2 separate regions of the Homo sapiens genome follow, and region 2 is linked to region 1. The links are contacts of gene promoters, found by promoter capture Hi-C in blood cells and fetal thymus (Javierre and others, 2016). All regions are on one chromosome and are shown on one strand. The core of a region is centred on a gene start or on the middle of the fragment in contact, and the rest is flanking DNA. Distances in the headings are between cores, read along the strand shown. Region 1 holds the start of LDLRAP1 (low density lipoprotein receptor adaptor protein 1). Region 2 overlaps AUNIP (aurora kinase A and ninein interacting protein).

Evidence for each region. The method cuts DNA at HindIII sites, captures the fragments that hold promoters and counts their contacts. A CHiCAGO score of 5 or more calls a contact.
Region 2: a fragment that was not itself captured here is called in contact with the fragment with the promoter of LDLRAP1 in region 1 in 1 of 17 cell types (total CD4 T cells); the score reaches 5.5 in total CD4 T cells.

What each region holds. Positions count from the first base shown.
Region 1 is chr1:25,541,991-25,545,832 of GRCh38, reverse strand. LDLRAP1 (low density lipoprotein receptor adaptor protein 1) reads right to left here and starts at 2,227. Exons shown (of 9, transcript NM_015627.3): 1 at 2,047-2,227. The coding sequence starts at 2,134. RefSeq lists silencers at 1,728-1,907, 1,938-2,397 and an enhancer at 2,498-2,557. The HindIII fragment of the contact is 5,608 bases long and covers 1-3,171 here.
Region 2 is chr1:25,835,067-25,838,908 of GRCh38, reverse strand. AUNIP (aurora kinase A and ninein interacting protein) reads left to right here. Exons shown (of 3, transcript NM_024037.3): 2 at 1,355-1,496; 3 at 3,063-3,842. Among named protein-coding and RNA genes, the nearest start is that of MTFR1L, 17 kb to the right of the region's middle. The HindIII fragment of the contact is 4,616 bases long and covers 1-3,842 here.

The DNA.
Region 1 (3,842 bases), core at 978-3,477:
TCCTCCTCTATGCCAGGCAAACGCAATTCCACTTGATCCCCACAAACAGCTGGAGGCAGGTACTACTGTTATTTGCAATTTACAGGTGAGGAAATTGAGACTTCATCACGAGGGACAGGTGGGGCTCGGCCTGCCCTCCTTCAGATCCAGAGGCTCCAGGACAGCACTTTGGGCTTACCAGGGCCTGGAGGAGGGGGAGAGGTGCTCCTCTCCTTTCCTCCAAAGGTGCAGACAGGCTCGGGGCCCCCAAAACCCATCTCACCACAGTACTAATCATGCTGGCAGCGTCCCAAGGATAGGCAGGGGGAAGAGGAGCAGGGGAGAAGAAAGCCACCAGTTAGGAGGGAGCATTATTACCAATAATCTCCTTGATACTCCTGCCAGGTAAGAGTTTTTATCCCCATGTTGCAGATGAGGAAACCGAGGATCAGAAAGGACAAGTGACTTGCTCAAGATTGAAGATGGCAAGAGAAATTCTCTTCCACATCCAAAGCGGCTACCTCTTCCACGTCCCCAGATTCAGAGATATTTCTTTCTAGCCTCCCTTCCCTTGCCAGCCCCCCTTCCTTCAAAACCACTTCCCTGGGGGCTGCCCCACCACCCTCCCTCCCTCATTCCTGGAGAAAACCCGCAGGATTCTCCCACTGGAACAGATGGCCATCTCAGAAGTCCTGGTCAAATCTTGCCAGTTTTTAAAGGGTCTATTTTGGGATGCAATCAGTGTGATAAACGGTACATCCCCTGGCCTAGTGGCCCAGCCCTAATGGGTCTCTGACCCCACCCCCCACCAGCAGGCACCACCCCACATTCCCAATGCCAATGCCAGTCTCAGCTGGGAGGCGGCCACAGCTGAACAACAGAGTGGGGCCAGAGGAGGAGGGAGGCGGGCCCTCTAGGCCCAGACACGCTGGCACTCCTTGGACCAGGGAGCTCGGGCTCCCCTGGCAGAGCCCTGTAAGGCCAAGAGGGGATGGGATGAGGGGGTGCTGTACTGTCAGTTGTTTCCTGATGAGGGGAGAAGCTGTGGCCCGAAGTAGGTGGCAGGGAGGTGGGAGTGTGCAGCAGTCCTGGGCTCTGGCTCCAAAACCAGCAGGAAGGTGTGTGTGACCCCAGGCAAGCCACTCTCTTCTCCCTCCCAAACAACGAGACCTGCGCTAGGCTGGGTCTTCTGGCTTCAGGGGAAGGTGCCAGGTGACAAGTTCCCTGAGCGTAATCAGAGACTGGGGGAGAGAAAGGGGGGGAGGCCCCTCCCAGCCTCCCAGACGCCCCAGGGAGAGGTGGCGGCGAGTCTGTCGTTTGCCTGGGCACCCAAGGGACTCTGGAAGCCCGAGGGGAAAGGTGCGAGAGAAAACAGGTTTCAAAAATAGTCGGGACGCCAGGCTTGCCACCTGGACCCGGCTAGAGGAAGGGACGTAAGGGTCTAGATCGCCTGATGTGGGGCTCTCCCGAGGCACCCCAGGCGGGGCCTCGTTCCCAATTTCAAGTACGTACCTGCGACCCCGGGCTCACACCTGGATGGGTGTCTGGGCACCCGGAGTCAAAAGTTGGCCCGGTGGGTCGGGCAGGGGGCGGGAGAACGGGCCAGTGGGCTCCTGACCGCCGCAGCTGCTGGCTGGGGCGCAGGGGTGCGGGACGGGGGCGTCTTCCCAAGCCCCTGCGCCCTCTCCTCCTCCCCTAGGCACCGACGACGAGCGCCTGCCTCCCCCTAGCTGGCCAGGACAGCAGGGCGGGAGGTGCCGCGGGTGGCGGGGGCCTCTTCTCCCAACCTGCACCCCACCCCATGCCGGCTGCACCTGAGGACCCCGAGCTCGGGCTCCTTCCTCAGCGCTGCCCCTCCTCGCAGCGGCATCGAGCGGCCGGCGAGTAGGTGCACAACTTGACCCCGGCCGACCCCCTGCCCCGCAGGGCCGGGAAAGGGCCACGCCGGGACCGGAGCGCCGGTGAGGCCCCGCCTCTGCCCAACTTGGCCGCACTCCGGGCGCCCGCGGAGGCCCCGCGCGCCTCTGCCCGATCCCGGCCCGGCCCGGCTGACGCGCGCACACTCACTGCGGTGCCGGCCACCGCCCCCCCAGCTCTGCTTGGCCAAGCTGGGGCTCCGGATCAGCGCCCGCCCCGCCGACTTGAGCGCGTCCATGGCCCGCTCCGGCCGCCGCCGCCGCTGCCGCAGCCAAAACTCCGTCAGGAAAAACTTTCCGCCCGGCCCTGCGGCGCGCGGGCTGCGCGCTCCTCCCCTCCCAGCGCCAGCTCCGCCGCGGCGTCCGACGGGGCGGGGCGAGAGAGGACAGGCCCCGCCCCCAGACGGGCCGCGCCCCCGACGGCCGGTCTCGCCCCGCCCGGTCCCTGTCCAGGCTCCAGGTCCAGGCACCAAGAGTTTCCGAGGCCGCCCGAAGGCGCCAGAAGATAGCAAATCGCAAGCCCTAGACGCCCCCGCTTTCCTCCTTTTCCCCAATCCCCACCCCGTAGGGGCCTGAGGGCCTGAGAGCAGCGGCCTAGGATTTCCAGTGACCATTTTACAGATGGGGAGACTGAGGGCTCCTCCAGTGGTGAAAGATCTTGTTCAGGGACAAAAGCAATGCGATGTCCAGGGCAGTGGGAGACTTAGGAAATAGTGGAGGCTGTAAGCCAGGGATATCCAAACTTTTGGCTTCCTTAGGCCACATTGGAAGAAGAAGTGTCTTGGGCCACACATGAAATACACTAACACTAACGACAGCTGATGAGCTGAAATATATATATATACACACACACTCATGTTTTTTGTTTTTCTGTATTGTTTTTTTTCCCCTGAGACAGAGTTTCACTCTGTTGCCCAGGTTGGAGTGCAGTGGTGCGATCTCGGGTCACTGCAACCTCTACCTCCCGGGTTCAAGCTATTCTCATGCCTCAGCCTCCCGAGTAGCTGGGATTACAGGCATGCACCACCATGCCTGGCTAATTTTTGTATTATTAATAGAGATGGAGTTTTACCATGTTGGCCAGGCTGGTCTCGAACTCCTGACCTCAAGTGATCTGCCCGCCTCAGCCTCCCAAAGTGCTGGGATGGCTGTGAGCCACCACACCCTGCCCAAAAAAATCTCATAATGTTTTAAGAACCTTTACCAATTTGTGTTGGGCTCCATTCAAAGCCGTCCTGGACCTCACATGGCCAGTGGGCCACAGGTTGGACAAGCTTGCAGTATAGACCCTTGTTAGGCGCAGGGTCGGTATATAAAAATTTGCCTTTAGCAAGTCCAGCCAGGCACTTTACTCATCCTCGTAGCTCCCAGGCTGCTCCCTGGCACCACCTGAGCATGCTGGGCCACCCCATGCCCCCGCAACTTCCCAGGTAGCCTCACAGATGGTATGATCTGGAACGTGCCCCTGACACTGACTTGCTGTGTGACCTCAGGCAAGTACTTCCCCTCTCTGAGTCTTGTTTATCTGTGAATGAGAGTCAATGCTATCTCTAGTGATCCTTCCAACCTGCCAGGGTCAAGAATCTGCATGACCTTGACCCTGACCCCAAGCTGCTTCCTAGGAGCATTCGGAGGGCAGTCTGAACCCCAGAATTGCTCAGGCACAGATGTTCTAACTCCAGGATTGGAAGGATTTGTTCTAACTCTCTAGGATGCCATGCCTTCCTTTCAAACTGTGCCAAAAGGAGCCAGAGGGAGGACACACACATCCAAGCCACAGCCTGGCTTCTTTTAGAAGGGGGTGCCTCAGGCAAGGCCAACTTCAACCTCTGTAATTACTCCTGGCTCAGAAGCCAGCAGTCCTCTCTGTGTCGGGAGAAAGATAGTGCTGTGCTGTCCCCAGCTGGATAGGGCGGCCTCACTGACATTCCCCTGTTTATAAACCAA
Region 2 (3,842 bases), core at 371-2,870, 290 kb before region 1:
TCAAGATTCAGGCCTACCTCTAACTTGCTGCATGAATAGTGGCAAATCTTACTTGTTTTTTGGCAGACACAGCAAAATTGAATTGAATATAATCCTATTTGCCCTACTTCTCAGGCATTCTTTAACAAGCAAATGGAAATAAAAACAAATCACATTAAATAAGGATGAGGTTATATTTATAGTTAGTTGACAACTCACTTTTCAAACCTCTCTTGCCTATCTTCCAGTTCCATTCTCTAAAGAATAAAAGCGCCTGAGTTAAAAGTGTAGTGAGACTGGTGCTGTTCCACTGCTCCTCCTCTTAATATTAGCCAACTGCTACTGAATGTTTTCTATGTGCCGGGAACTGTGTAAGCCTTTTATGTGAATAAATTTACTAAATTTTCTTTTTTCCTTTTTTTTTTTTGAAACGGAGTCTTGCTCTGTCGCCCAGGCTGGAGTGCAGTGGCACAATCTCGGCTCATTGCAACCTCCGCCTCCCTGGTTAAAGCGATTCTTCTGCCTCAGCCTCCCAAGTAGCTGGGGCTACAGGCGCTTGCCACCACGCCTGGCTAATTTTTGTATTTTTAGTAGAGACAGGGTTTCACCATATTGGCCAGGCTGGTCTTGAACTCCTGACCTCGTGATCCACCCGCCTCGGCCTCCCAAAGTGTTGGGATTACAGGTGTGAGCCACCACGCCTGGCCTTACTAAATTTTCATAACTGCCATATGGATAGGTACTATTATTGTCATTTGACACCTAAGAATGAGATTAAGCAACTTGGAGAAGGTCACATAGCAAAGTGGCAGTGGCAGAACTAGGACTGATTTTTTTTTTTTTTTGTATTTTTAGTAGAGACGGGGTTTCGCCATGTTGGTCAGGCTAGTCTCGAACTCCTGACCTCCTTATCTGCCCGCCTCAGCCTCCCAAAGTGCTGGGATTACAGGCGTGAGCCACCGCGCCCGGCCAAGGACTGATTCTTGAGCCATGCTCTTAACCACCACTATGTGACTACTTTAAAACTACTGAAAATGCATCAACTGCTGCTGTAGAATCATTAATTATCCTTAAATATAAAAGAGCATCATCTCTGCCATCCTGTTAACAAATCCTGTTTGTTTAGTCAGCCTGATTTCCATGGGGAAGCAGAAAGATTGGGCTATCATTGGAATATGTGATTCCTGAGAAAAACACCGTTACAATGGCTGGAAATGGAAGATGATGTCCAGCACCAACTACCTTGAGAATAGGCTATAAGTGGAGTACAGAGGATCTAGTGTGGTTCTCAGAGGATCACTGGTGTGTACTGAATCTCTACTGTATGTCTTTTAATATTAATAGGCTCATTATTCTTTTTTCTCTCCTTTCTCAGACACATTTAATCAAACCAGGCACCAAAATGCTAACACTCCTTCCTGGAGAAAGAAAGGCTAATATTTATTTTACTCAAAGAAGAGCTCCATCTACAGGCATTCACCAGAGAAGCATTGCTTCCTTCTTCACCTTGCAGCCAGGTATGGTGACCCATATGGGAATACTTCATTATCCAGAGCAAAAAAGGAGTGTGTTCATTTGTCCATGTTAGACCATTTATGAGAAATGGTGAAACCAGTGCATTGTGTTAAACTTAGCCTGTTAGAAGAGGTTATAAAACATAAGTTGTTGCCTTTTGAAAAGCAATATATGTGTACTTTTACAAACATACTTTTCTGGTTCTGTTTTGCTCAGCTTAATATTAAATATTTGTATTTGCTGACAGAGCAGTCAGGAAGGGTGTACTTGGGAGTTGGAGGTGCACTGGGGAGTTGCCCTGCCATTAGTTAGGTGGTATATATCTTGGGTTGGCCACAGTGGGTACTCTGTCTAAGGTTAATTAATAATTGATACTTTTGTGTGACGCTTCTCAAATTAGTGAAAGGTTCAAAGATGCTTTTTCTTAGCCTCACATAAAGTTGGCTTATGTCTCTTCCTTTGGCTGTTCTTTGCTTCCAGGTCCCTGTTCAGGGGAGCAGCTGACTCAGAGCAGGCTGGGCCTTAAACAGCAGGGTTCCTGCCACTTGGAGGGTGTTGGGAAGAGTGCTCTAATGCCGGGTGTGATTCTCAGGATTGCTTTGCCTAAACCTTCAAAATGCCCTCTCCCTCCTCCAAACAAAAACGTACACTCTTTTGCTTTATGTAAGGGCAGATTTAAAAAAAACAAACAAAAAACCCACTTTTTCCACTTACAAATTCTGGTGTATTTTATAGTCTATATTGAATGCTAAGGAAAAGTTGAGAATTCTCACAAAACCTAGTTTCTGCAGTATAATTCTTATTGTAGAAGGAAAGAGGAAATCAGTTATTCTGCTTTGTTTTTATAATTAGATCTTGGAACAATTTGAGCCAAGTTGGGAATTCCATGTCCTCCATCCTTATCTTAAGGCAGAACAGAATCCACTCTATGCCTGATAAAATTAACAGGCTGGACACTAGTAGTTGTTTCACTATTCTACCTACTGATTGACTTAGCATCCTAATTGTGTCTTCACTCCCTTTCCAATGAAATGCCTGGGGAGTGGAGGACCCACGTTTTTCACACTGTCACCAGAAGGTTTCTCAGAGTTGGATAGTTAATGTCATCTTTAAGACCTTACAAAACTAGTATGTGTTTAGCATGTTTCTTTAAGGATAATGTCTAGGAATGTATATTTGACCAGGATCACCATTTAGTAAAAAACCACATTAAATAAAAAACAAAAGCAAAACTGATGTGCCGTATGTTAAACAAACCTACAAATGAAAACTCAGCTGGTAAAGTAGGCTATGGTCTGATCGTATGCGATGTTTGACTTTATTAGGTAGGTGATGGGAAGTATCCATGTATTTGAGTAGGGAATATAAGATCTGATGTTTTAGAGTTTATTCATGATAGACTGGCAAGATTGAAAACAGGAAGATTGGCTACAAAGTTATGTGAAGAGTCTTAAGACTCCTGCACTAGGTAGTAATAGTAGCTGATACTGATTTCAGAAAAAGCCAACTGAATCCTGCTTAGGGCAGTTTTTCTGCAGAATAATATTTGTTCATTCCTGTTTTATTAGGAAAGACAAATGGCAGTGACCAGAAGAGTGTTTCATCTCATACAGAAAGTCAGATCAACAAAGAGTCCAAGAAAAATGCGACCCAGCTAGACCATTTGATCCCAGGCTTAGCACACGATTGCATGGCATCCCCTTTAGCCACTTCAACCACTGCAGACATCCAGGAAGCTGGACTCTCTCCTCAGTCCCTCCAGACTTCTGGCCACCACAGAATGAAAACCCCATTTTCAACTGAGCTATCTTTGCTCCAGCCTGATACTCCAGACTGTGCTGGAGATAGTCATACCCCACTGGCTTTTTCCTTCACCGAGGACTTGGAAAGTTCTTGTTTGCTAGACCGAAAGGAAGAAAAAGGGGATTCTGCCAGGAAATGGGAATGGCTTCATGAGTCTAAGAAGAACTATCAGAGTATGGAGAAACACACCAAACTACCTGGGGACAAATGCTGTCAGCCCTTAGGCAAGACTAAATTGGAAAGAAAGGTGTCTGCCAAAGAAAACAGGCAGGCCCCTGTCCTCCTTCAAACATACAGGGAATCCTGGAATGGAGAAAACATAGAATCAGTGAAACAAAGCCGTAGTCCAGTTTCTGTGTTTTCCTGGGACAATGAAAAGAATGACAAGGACTCCTGGAGTCAACTTTTCACTGAAGATTCTCAAGGCCAGCGGGTCATTGCCCACAACACTAGAGCTCCTTTTCAAGATGTAACCAATAACTGGAATTGGGACTTAGGGCCGTTTCCTAACAGTCCTTGGGCTCAGTGCCAGGAGGATGGGCCAA